Regions from separate parts of the Homo sapiens genome. Here region 1 is linked to region 2. Evidence: promoter capture Hi-C in human tissues and cell types (Jung and others, 2019). All regions are on one chromosome and are shown on one strand. Each heading gives the region's core, a stretch centred on a gene start or on the middle of the fragment in contact. The rest is flanking DNA. Distances are from core to core; before and after follow the strand shown. Region 1 overlaps FRMD4A (FERM domain containing 4A). Region 2 holds the start of MCM10 (minichromosome maintenance 10 replication initiation factor).

What was found. Contacts are between HindIII fragments. The study calls those that stand out against the background at their distance.
Region 1: a contact is called between a fragment that was not itself captured here and the fragment with the promoter of MCM10 in region 2, in 1 of the 25 tissues and cell types used here (thymus).

The regions. Positions count from the first base shown.
Region 1 is chr10:14,188,463-14,194,729 of GRCh38, reverse strand. All of the region lies in intron 2 of FRMD4A (FERM domain containing 4A), which reads left to right. Among named protein-coding and RNA genes, the nearest start is that of FRMD4A-AS3, 120 kb to the right of the region's middle. The HindIII fragment of the contact is 7,611 bases long and covers 1-6,267 here.
Region 2 is chr10:13,157,514-13,163,133 of GRCh38, reverse strand. It overlaps MCM10 (minichromosome maintenance 10 replication initiation factor), which reads right to left and starts at 1,576. Exons shown (of 20, transcript NM_018518.5): 1 at 1,528-1,576. It also overlaps the pseudogene BTBD7P1 and the pseudogene RPL36AP36. RefSeq lists silencers at 1,312-1,491, 1,514-1,827. The HindIII fragment of the contact is 5,218 bases long and covers 643-5,620 here.

The DNA.
Region 1 (6,267 bases), core at 1,938-4,437, 1.0 Mb before region 2:
GAGAGAACCATAAAATAAGAGATTCCAGAAAGTTTATCCTCTTGACATCTCAGAAATGAACATTTCCTGAAGCAGGAAGTAGGAATGCTCCTTGGTTTTTTGTTGTTGTTGTTGTTGTTGAGACAGAGTCTCGCTGTGTCGCCCAGGCGAGAGTGCAGTGGTGCGATCTCGGCTCACTGCAAGCTCCGCCTCCCGGGTTCCCGCCATTCTCCTGCCTCAGCCTCCCGAGTAGCTGGGACTATAGGTGCCTGCCACCACGCCCGGCTAATTTTTTGTATTTTTTAGTAGAGACGGGGTTTCACCGTGTTAGCCAGGATGGTCTCGATCTCCTGACTTCGTGATCCGCCCGCCTCGGCCTCTCAAAGTGCTGGGATTACAGGCCTGAACCACTGCACCCGGCCTCCTCCGTGTTTTTTAATACCCTTTCCCCACAATGCCAGCATAGTGCTGTGAGAAGTAGTAGGGCTGACGAGTGAATGAAGGAACGCAGAGATGGATGAGTCAAGGAAGGAATAAGTGAATGTTCTCACATCGCTAGAGGGCTTTGTTATTTGCTTTTACTTTTGTGGTTATAGAAGCTGATTGTAGGGAATTTGCAAAATGAAGATAAGTATAAAAATGAGAATTAAAATCACAGAGGAAACCCCCTGGGGTCTTCATTTGCAGGTTTGTGCTTTTGCCAACATGTATAGCTAGTTATGTAAATTTAATGCATGGAAATTCTGTGTCTTAAAGTCTGATCTTCATGGAATTAAAAAAGAAAGGGAATTTCCATAGTTTGTATGTATCAACTTTGAATCAGGAAAAATTCAGAGAAGCAGGGGACATGGGTTGGGATGGATCAGTGTTCACCACAGAACCTTTTAGGGACCAAGAAGTCTAGGAAAGGAGCAACGCATTTCCATCAACCTCATCAAACTAAGAAGTGTGCCAGTGTCTTAGCGAGAGGAGCCTGGAGTTGACATAGAACATCAAAGCAGTATCTCTAGGCATATGTATTTGTTATATAATATTATATATTATTTGTAGTTTTTTTTTTTTTAATTTGTAGACCAGCACTGCTGGTCCCTACTGCAACTTTTTGCTTGGTTTCCAGGCCATCTTTCATTGCTTATGAATATTTCTGGTCTCCTCTTTGCCCAACTAAATTGTATGTTCTTCAAAAACCATATGGGGTCTTGTTCTGAATTCATCCCTCTGTTTTTACATTCACTCTACAAGTTTCCATTGCACACTCTGTGTGTGTGTGTGTGTGGGTGGGTGGGTGGGTGTATGTATGTATGTGGTAAAACACCAAGAATTAAAAAGCAATGAAATGTGACATTTCCGTTTTCTGGAAGTTTGGTTTGTGATTAATAAGACAAGGTCTCTGGACCCGAAAGTGTTAAGTAAAAATATCAGCAAAGGCTCACTAATGCTTCCATTGCACAGTTCCTGATGTGAGGCACATCACTTGGTGCATTAGTCTCAGTTGATGGATTGATTAATTAAGAGGCAACCTATCAGGGAGAAAGCAAGGTAAAGTACTGTTCATTGGTTTACAGACAGTCTAATGTATTTAGAAATCATCAGGAGTAAGACTGTGTTCTTCCCAAGATCATGATTACCAGAAATCCCATTCAAACAAAAAATAAAATTAGCCATGGATGGCCCAGGGTAGAATTTCTGAAAACAGTATTTAACTTGACCTAGATATTGACAAGGATAACAGTGCAGTCCTTGATGTTGGAGTCAGCAAATACACGCTGTTACTCTTTATTTCTTTTTGTGGCATTACTGTCTGTGCAAATATATTTAGTTCATATTGCTATGTACACAGCAGTGACAACTGCACCCTATTGGTGTGATTAGAAATGCAACAGTGAATAAATAAATCATCCTTTGTGACCCCTGGAAGAAAAAGTTGATGCAAAAATGCTTAAAAACTCTTTGAAGGAATTCATTACGTTTTAGAATTCAGTAACCTAGAGGGGAGATGTTCATTCCTGGAAACTCACAGAATAAAATCACACCTTGGTAATACCATGTTCACTGATGTACTTGAGCTTATTGTATAATACTGTGGAGGGAACAAGAAGGCTCTTCTTTGGAGAGGTTTAAGGAGGAGATGAAAATACATAAGTCCAAGAGATCCTGAAGCTCTCTTAAGGAAAGAGGTTAAAAAAAGAAGGTTCTTAATACACATGAAGATTTGGAGAGGCTGATGCTGCAAGAATAAAAGGAATGTGGAGGAATTTATCTCACAACAGTGCACCACTGTAACAGGTTTCTTTTAGCAGAGTTTTGTTATGTGAATGTATATTTCCTGATATTTACACTTTCCCATTTTTGCTTCTAAGCTAATTAGGTTATAAGAGCTGTTACTCTAAACAAGTTAATCAATCTCTTTCAACATCTTCCAAATAAGATAAGCAAAACAGGTGTGTGTGGATACACACTGATATTCAAAATGGTCTGTGTATACAGCTACACAAAACCCAGTTAGCAATTCTTACAAAGAAAAAAGTGGAGAATTAGATATGTTATTCTCCATCCAAAAGAATGATTTCATATAAAGCCTAGAAAAGTCAGTGAATTGGAATTCCCTTGGATGATAAGGGGATGGTGACTTTCAGGGATAAAAACCACCAAGGAGGTAGCTGTGCACCTTTGGCTGGGGCTCAGAATTGTTGATTATTAGCAACTCTGGCTTAAAGTGTGGTCAGTTAAGACCAGTGGAGGTTAAAGCCTGGTTGAAATGTCAACCGGGGATGTGAAAAAGTGGTCTGGTGGAAGTGGAGACAGTGAGTGAGAAAATAATTTTAATTATAGAATAAAGAAAAAACAGGAAGCAAGAATGAAGAAACATCTAGGAAAGTATAGAAAGAGTTGTAATCACTCATGAGGAGATGAAGCATTTGCCAGGAGAGAGAGAGAGAGAGAGAAAAAAAAAAAACAGCCAGTTGAGCTGAAAACTCCTATCTAAATATGAAAGCAGGGAATATATTCTGAGGCTGGAAATATTCATCAATGTGTTAAATGTCACACATTCTAAAAATATGAGATAGATTTCAACGGCCCTATAGTTAAAGACTGATGATTGGAATATCGCTTTTATGATGCCATAGCAATTCACATGGTTCTTAAGTCTCCATAGCAACAGCCGATACTACTTTTTGTTCTCTTGTGTAGTCACATGATGCTGGATGCACTGCATAAACAGAGGGGAGCGGTCGATTGTATTTCTCAATTAGTGACAGAGAGACCAGGGGTCATGAGACAGGACTTTTATTGGGATTGGTCCTGGGTCTTGTAAACTATGGCTGTCCCTTGATATCCTTTCTCTTAGGAGCTGGCACTTCTACTGGCTGTTCACCTTTGACCCCATTAGCCTCTGCTTTCTCTCAACGACTGTTGTTTTATGAGTTGTGTGTCCATTTAGATAAAATTCTCTCAAAGCAGAAGACCCTTTCTGTTTGGGATTCCCAACTGAAACCATGCCCCAAAGAGTTAAAGAAGCCAATGGCTAACTTCTTGGGCTTAGAGGATAACACACATAAGAAAAGCAAAAACTTGCTGAAAAGCTGAAACTGAGACTATGCCCCCAAGAGTACAACCAGTAACTAACAAAAATTCTTGAGTGTGCAGGTTAACATATAAGACAAGAAACCTCTCACTGCGACACTAAAACTCTCTCCACCTGTGAGATAAAAGAACTGGCTAAAGTTGGTTGGAACCAATATGGCTGACTGGGGTCTGCACGGAACCAGCTTGCTGACCTCACAGCCTGAATTCCCACCCATGTTTCACACTAACTTCCTCCAAATTTGCACACAAAGCCCCAGGAGGCATCACGAATAGATAACTGCGCATGCCCAAGGACTTTCCAGACTTCCTGCTTCCTTCCATCAGTCACCTGCTTATCCCCAAATCCACCCCCTGAAACTTTTCCATTAAAAAATACTGCCTTGGAGCCAGCACAGATAGACAGATTTGAACTTGACTCCTGTCTCCTTGTGAGTAGACTTGCAATATAAAGCTTTTCTTTTCTCAAAAATCCAGTGTTGACAGATGCCGGGGCTCACGCCGGTAATCCCAGCACTTTGGGGGACCAAGGTGGAAGGATTGCTGGAGGCCAGGAATTTGAGGCCAGACTGGGCAACACAAGAAAACTCCAGCTCTACAAAAAATTTATTAGCCAGGTGTGATAGCATGTGCCTGTGGTCTCAAATACTTGGGAGGCAGAGGTGGTCTCAGCTACTCGGGAGGCAGGATCGCTAGAGCCTTGGAGACTGAGGCTGCAGTGAGCTATGATGGCACCACTGCACTCCAGCCTGGGCAACAGAGCAAGACCCTGACTCTAAAAAATGAACAAAAAACAAACAAACAGAAAACCCGGTGTCATAGTATCGGCTTCCAGCACATCCAGCAGTGAGCCCTTTTTTCTGGTAATACAGTTGTCTTGAAAATGGTAGAACTACCAACATGAGAGGGGTGGTCATTTGCTGTGAAGAAACTACTGTTTTCACTTCAGGATGAGCAACAAACTCGTCTGCTAGGGCGAGGGCATACTGTTGCATCAGAATCTGTTCCACAGTTTTTCTGTCTGTAAAATGGGAGTGATAACCAAAACCGTTTTCTTAGTCAAAGGGTAGTGTCTATGAGACATTTAGACAAGTTTTGTCAAATATATTTTGGAAAGTGGTGTACGTGTGGGGAGAACCTGATTTACTGCCTTAGGCTTATGTATTAGAGGTATCAAGGTGCTTCATGTTTTAGCCTAGAGTCAGAGAGCGCCCTATGAAGTTTGCAAGCATAATTAAGATAGATAGAAATCTCTCCTGAGCTCTCATTAAATTTATAAGGATTTTCCTACTGAGGCCGACTCAAATTCCCAACACTTTTGCCATTGTTCTCATTAATGAGCATCAGGCTGAGTTAAGATCTGTCTAAACTCACCTTGACATTGGCTGTTTTTCAGTGGCAGTCAGAAGTTTATGGGCTCTAGTCCTAAGTGATGACACTAACATCTGTTACCCTGACTGAATCAATTCCCTCTTTTTGTTTATTTTTTTCTTTATAGGAGAGGATATTTATACAAGAACAAAGAATGTTACTTGGTACAGAGAAGGCAGTCTGTAAATATTCATTATCTTCCTCCTCTTTTTTCTTTTTTGAAATGGAGTTTCACTCTTGTTGCCCAGGCTGGAGTGCAATGGTGCAATCTCAGCTCACTGCAACCTCCGCCTCCCAGGTTCTAGCAATTCTCCTGTCTCAGCCTCCCGAGTAGCTGGGATTACAGGTGCCCGCCACCACACCTGACTATTTTTTGTATTTTTAGTAGAGACCAGGTTTCATCATATTGGTCAGGCTGGTCTTGAACTCCTGACCTCAGGTGATCCACCCACCTCTGCCTCCCAAAGTGCTGGGATTACAGGCGTGAGCAACCGCGCCGGGCCCATTCTCTTCCTCCTCTTACCCCTTTTTCCACCTCAAATTCTTGCATTTCTGGCATTTTGCTATTGGGATTTCAAAGGTTTGCCAATGATGTAGGCATGTTTGGAGCTAAGGGTGACATCGTAGCAATGCTGCAGCATCATCACTGACGCGAGATGTTAAGCTCTCACTGTCTATAGGACACCATACACAGAGGTGGAAATACACAGCCATGAGACCTTGTGCTTGAGGGTTAAAATACAGATCAGGGTTAAAAGATAACAGCACAAGGTAACTTAAGCTAAATGTCAAACAGGCAGTGAAGACAAACAGAGGTGAGCTGGGTTGCTCAGGGAAAGCTTCCCAGAAAGGAGTTGTTTTGGGCGGGATTTTGTTTGGTTTTGTTTTTGAGACAAAACCTCGCTCCGTTGCCCAGACTGGAGGTCAGTGCTGCAATCACCGCTCATTGCTGCCTTAACCTCCCAGGCTCAGGCGATCCTCCCACCCCAGCCTCCCAAGTTACTGGGACCACAGGCGCATGCCACTGGTGCTCAGCTAATTTTTTGATTTTTCGTAGGGACGGGGTCTCACTATGTTGCCCAGGTTTGTCTCAAACTCCTGGGCTTAAGTGAGCCTTCCACCTCAGCCTCTCAAAGTCTGAGCTACTGTGCGCAGCCAAGGAAAGGAGTTGATGAGGACTTTGAAGAAAGCTAATGTCTATTGAGGGCTTATTAAGTAATGGACATTGGGTCTTGGCCTGCTTTATCTCTTTGATTAAAGTTTGGATTCTGGAAAAGGACCTAAAGGTAGAAAGGTGGGACTGATTGAAGAGGGAATGATTGGATAATGAGT
Region 2 (5,620 bases), core at 327-2,826:
CTCCTGATGTCAAGTGATCCATCAGCCTTGGACTCCCAAAGGTGCTTTTTTTTTTTTTTGAGACGGAGTCTCTGTCACCCAGGCTGGAGTGCAATGGGGCGATCTTGGCTCACTGCAAGCTCCGCCTCCCGGGTTCACGCCATTCTCCTGCCTCAGCCTCCCGAGTAGCTGGGACTACAGGCGCCCGCCACCACGCCCGGCTAATTTTTTGTATTTTTAGTAGAGATGGGGTTTCACCGTATTAGCCAGGATGGTCTCGATCTCCTGACCTGGTGATCCGTCCGCCTTGGCCTCCCAAAGCGCTGGGATTACAGGCGTGAGCCACCGCGCCTGGCCGCTTTTTAAAAATTCATTCAACCAACATTTCCACGGATCCCTCATGTGCCACACACTGTGCTATCTACTGGGGAACCTATTGGACAGTAAGCTTCCTGAGCGTTAGGAGCAAACTGTCTCGTTCAAGTCTGTAACCGGCCTTGCCTTCCCCCAAAATGAAACTGTGCACCCTCCCTCGCCCTCAAATCCACGGCCACTGACAAGTACTGTGGTCCCATCTCCAAAACACTGCTCAAATCTGCCACTTCTCTCCAACTTCACTGCCAGAACCCTAGGCCAAGCCACCGTCAACCTTTAACCCAATGACTGTGTTAGCTTTCTATGTTGGTCTCTTTGTCCCCGTGCAATCTGTTCTGCATACGACAGCCACGGTAATCTTCCCTTTCCTTAGTAACCTTTAGGAACATAAATCAGATCATGGGGGTCCCTTCATTGAAATTCTTTAATGATTTTCCATTGCCCTTAGAAAAAATCTACAAAGCCTGCGAGGCAATGATTCATATTCTCTCTCTCTTTCCAAGCTTTCTACTCCCTCACATTTTCCACAATCCACCACGTCCAATTCTACCCACCCCGACACCCATAACGATGCTCCAGCCGGGCCAGCCCGCTTCCACCTTCTGGAACACACTAAGCTGCTTTGAGGTCTCAGGCTCTGTCGAAGAAAGCTCCCCCCAGGTCCTTCTCGCCCTTCGGTCTCCACTTACTCATCTTTCTGAGACTTTCTGGACCACCCTGAGTCGTCCACTGTCGTGCATTTGTTTACTACCTGCTCGTGCCTTTAAACTGTAAGCGCTGTGAAGGCAGCGGAAATGTGATCCGAGCCATGCACACCGTCCGCATTCAATAATCATTGGCAAATCATGAATACGAGAAACCAATGAATGAATGAATGAATGAATGAATAAAAGAAAGCCCAGGCGGCAGGCACTTGGCAAGCACTTAAAAGGCTGCGTTTAAAAGGAAGAACCCGATTCCTTAGTAGACGGCCAGCAACTCCCAGCCCCCGGCCCGGCCATGCCAGCTCCGAGCGGTCCCAAGCTGCCGCCAAATCCAGATCGCGCCCACCCGAGCTCCCGGGACCCCGCGCCTCTAGCCTCGGACCCCTTGCAACCCGCGCAGAGACGTGCGAGGCGGCCCCGGCCCCGCCGCCCGAGGGTCACACGCACGCCCGGGGCCCGCGCTCCTCACCCGATGCCGGGACGCCTTCTTCGTTCACAGCTGAACCCGCCAAAATTCCAACCGGATCCCGCCCCTGCCTTGACGTCAGACGCACGCGGCTGTGGGGCAGCACTGACTGGCTACGCCAGCGAATCCCGGCCCTGGCACAGAGCAATCGGATTGGTTTACGTCATTGGACGCCCTCTTTGTTGGGGGCAAGGGACCTTCCTGTCGGTAGAAGCCAGTCTCCTTTAGGTAAAATAGAGTGTCTGGCGCCCCCTGGTGCCGGGAAGTTTAAGTCATCCCACCCAGTATTTTCCCTGCGGTCCCATCCCACCTCAACTCCTGACGCTCTGGGACCGACTGTTCCTTTGTCAGCCTTATGTCCATTCGAAATGTTTGGGCTCAGGACCAAACAGATCCGGTCCACTTTTACCCTGTCTGACCTTGGGGAAGTGACTTATCTCTCTGAGTTTCCCCTTCACCATCTGTGCAGTGAGGGAAAGGGTAGATGACATCTTTTACACTGAAACCACCATTTCCCGAGTAATTCCTGTTCCATAGATTTTGGGACTTCTAAGGGGCGTCAGGGCTGAAGAGAACTTATCAGCAGACCATATCTTTCACAGATTTTTTTTTCAGTAAAATTCAGGCCTCTTTATGTATTTACATTCTAAAAAATAGTGTTTGTACATAATACTAAGAACATAGTTTCTAAATGCAGAATAACATTTAGCTTTTACATAATTTCAAGGGATTGATAGCAGAAGAGACTTTGATGGACCAAATGGCCACTTTAAGTCTTTCCCCCCTTTTCCTCCTTGCAGACACTGTTCAGGCACTGCAGTTCCCCCACTAATAATCCCTTTGGTATAAGATCCTATCTCTATCCACTACGTACTTTCATTTTCAGAACAATTAAAATCGACTTTAGGAAGACTGAAGATAAACAGTCCTGATGCCATCTACGTTGACTTTTTTCTGTGTCCTAATGGAATATTACTGCTCCATTTATGAGCTCAGCCCTATTACTTAAACCTATATTGGCTCAGGAATAGGAATACAACCATTTCTGAGAGCTGCTAGTGTTAAAAATTCATAGTAATGGAGGAACTCTAGTAATCAAATTGAAAAAGTATGTTTAAATGCGTACTTTTAAACATACGGCACTAAGGCCGGGCACGGTGGCTCACCCCTGTAATCCCAGCACTTTGGGAGGCCGAGGTGGGTGGATCACGAGGTTAGGAGTTCGAGACCAGCCTGGCCAACATGGTGAAACCCCATCTCTACTAAAAACACACACAACACAAAAATTAGCTGGGCGTAGTGGTGCGCGTCTGTAATCCCAGCTACTTGGGAGGCTGAGGCGGAGAATCGCTTGAACCTGGGAGGTGGCGATTGCAGTGATGAGCCGAGATCTCGCCACTGCACTCCAGCCTGGCGACAGAGCCAGACTCTGTCTAAATAAATAAATAAATAAATAAATAAATAAATAAATAAATGCATCACTACATCTAGTTATTAAAAAAAAAAGATTCGTCATAGATTTATTCTTAGCCATTATGCAGAAATTCCTTGACTAATTCTGATCAGTACTCTGAAGTTCTTTTCTTCACCTTCACTTTCCAGGTCCTCTTTGCATCCAGTTCCGGGCAAGGAGTCAGAAACAGAACCAACCTAAGCCCGCAAACCTTCCTTAAGTGAAGAATCAAGCACTTTTTATTGGAATTAGTATAGTGGTGACTTTGAGAAAAGAAGTGGAGGTGATTTTGAGAAACAATTAGGCAAATAGATTTTTTAAAATCCATTGAATGTGGCTTTTCCGTGCCGATAGCGCTCACACAAACATTACGAAGTTTCCTAAAACCCGCCAGACTTTCTATAAGAAGTGTGGCAAGCACCAACCCCACAAAGTGACACTGTACACGAAGGAGAAGGATTCTCTGTATGCCCAGGGAAAGCGGCGTTATGACAGGAAGCAGAGTGGCTATCGTGGGCAAATTAAGCCGATTTTCCAGGAAAGGGCTAAAACTACAGAAAATTGTGCCAAGGCTTGAGTGCGTTGAGCCCAGCTGCAGCTCTAAGAGAGTGCTGGCTATTAAAATATGCTAGCATTTTGAACTGGGAGGAGGTAAGAAGAGAAACGGCCAAGTGATCCAGTTCTAAGTGTCATGTTTTCTTTTATTATGAAGACAATAAAATCTTGAGTTTATATTTTTAAAACATCCATTGAATGTGGAGATATTAGCGAGAAGGAAGCAGAGAGGGGATGGGGAGACAGGTTTAGGATGACTGTTAGGTTTCTGATTTATACAATAGGGTCGTTTTTGAGGTTGTGCACTGAAGTAGGAGACATAGGAAGAACGGAACAGGTTTAGGGGAGAAGATAGATTTAGTTTTCTATTTCAGAATGAGATGTATGAGAGATGCTGATTAAGAAAGGCACGGTAGCCAGCTTGATCTCCAGATCTGGGGTTCTAAGGAGAGGCCTGGACTCTCCTTAGAATACAAACGAAGGCCAAAAAAGAACAGCTCTGACAGTTATCAACATCTATCTAAAATGAAATCTAAAGCAAACAGCCCATATTGCAGTGGTCCTTAACCTTTTTTGGGCGGTAGGAGGATGTTTATCACAGACCCCTTTAATGTATTAAAAGTGGGCCGGGCACGGTGGCTCATGTCTGTAATCCCAGGACTTTGGGAGGCCGAAGCTGGCAGATCACCTGAGGTCAGGAGTTCGAGACCAGTCTGGCCAACATGGTGAAACCTCATCTCTACTAAAAAAAATGCAAAAATGAACCGGAAGTATTGGCGCATGCTTGTAATCCCAGCTACGCGGGAGGCTGAGGCAGTAGAATCGCTTGAACCCGGAAGACGGAGGTTGCAGTGGGCCGAGATCGGCCACTGCACTCCAGCCTAGGCAACAAGAGCAAAACTCCGCCTCAAAAAAACAAAAAACAAAAAAAAACACAAAAAGTCCAAGCCGAGCCCTTCCTGCTCCCTCTAGGAATCAAAATGGCGGCGAGGGAAAACTGGAGCAGTCCCGGAGCCTGAGCCACTGACAGGAGAGGAGAGGGCGGCGGCGGCGGTGGGAGGAGGATGGCGGCGGTGTGCTGGCGCCGGTGCCTGCCGCGGTGCTGGTGGCGGAGGCGGCGGGGGCGACGGCCGAGGTCCCTGCGGCAGCAGCAGCAGCGGCGGCGGGAGGAGCCTCCAGGTCGATTGAACTGTGGATGAGGAACCTACGGAATACGAAGGGCAGACTGTATAGTAAACACTTGAGGATGCTTGCTGTGTGGTTCTTACAGAATGCACTGTCCGTGTGTCTGGCTGCCCACAGCCTTTCATACTTCAATAGTATGCACTAAAGTAAGGTCTAATGGCCCTGTTCTCATAGAAATAGATGGAAAGAGGCTGCTGGATCCAGGGTTGAAGGTTCCTAATGGCCTCTAGGATTATACTCTGAAGAACCCGCAGACGGAATGCCTGAATGACTGAAGAAAATGGGTGCTAATGCATCTCATTATCCTCATCCATGTTCCGCGAAGGTAGGGGGAAATTCACAGGCCCAACAGACTTTTATAGGGACGTCATCCTATTCTCAGCAAGGCTATGGTTGTGAATCAAAATTGTATAGCCTTGACCATGGCCATGAGAAACCACAAGACAAAAAAAAGAGGCCGGGCACGGTGGCTCACGCCTGTAATCCCAGCACTTTGGGAGGCCGAGACGGGCGGATCACGACGTCAGGAGATCGAGACCATCCTGGCTAATATGGTGAAACCCTGTCTCTACTAAAAAATACAAAAAATTAGCCGGGCGTGGTGGCGGGCGCCTGTAGTCCCAGCTACTCGGGAGGCTGAGGCAGGAGAATGGCGGGAACCTGGGAGGCAGAGCTTGCAGTGAGCCGAGATCGAGCCACTGCACTCCAGCCTGGGCGACAAAGCCAGACTGTCTCAAAAAAAAAAAAAAAAAAAAAAAAAAAAAAAGACCTCTGGCCCTGCTACCTTCAAAAAGAACTTAATTAAGCCTCGAAAATCTGATAGGTCTGCCGATCATGCCAAGCAGATGCGAGAACTCCTCTCTGGGTGGGATATTAGAGATGTCAATGCATTAGCGGAGGAAT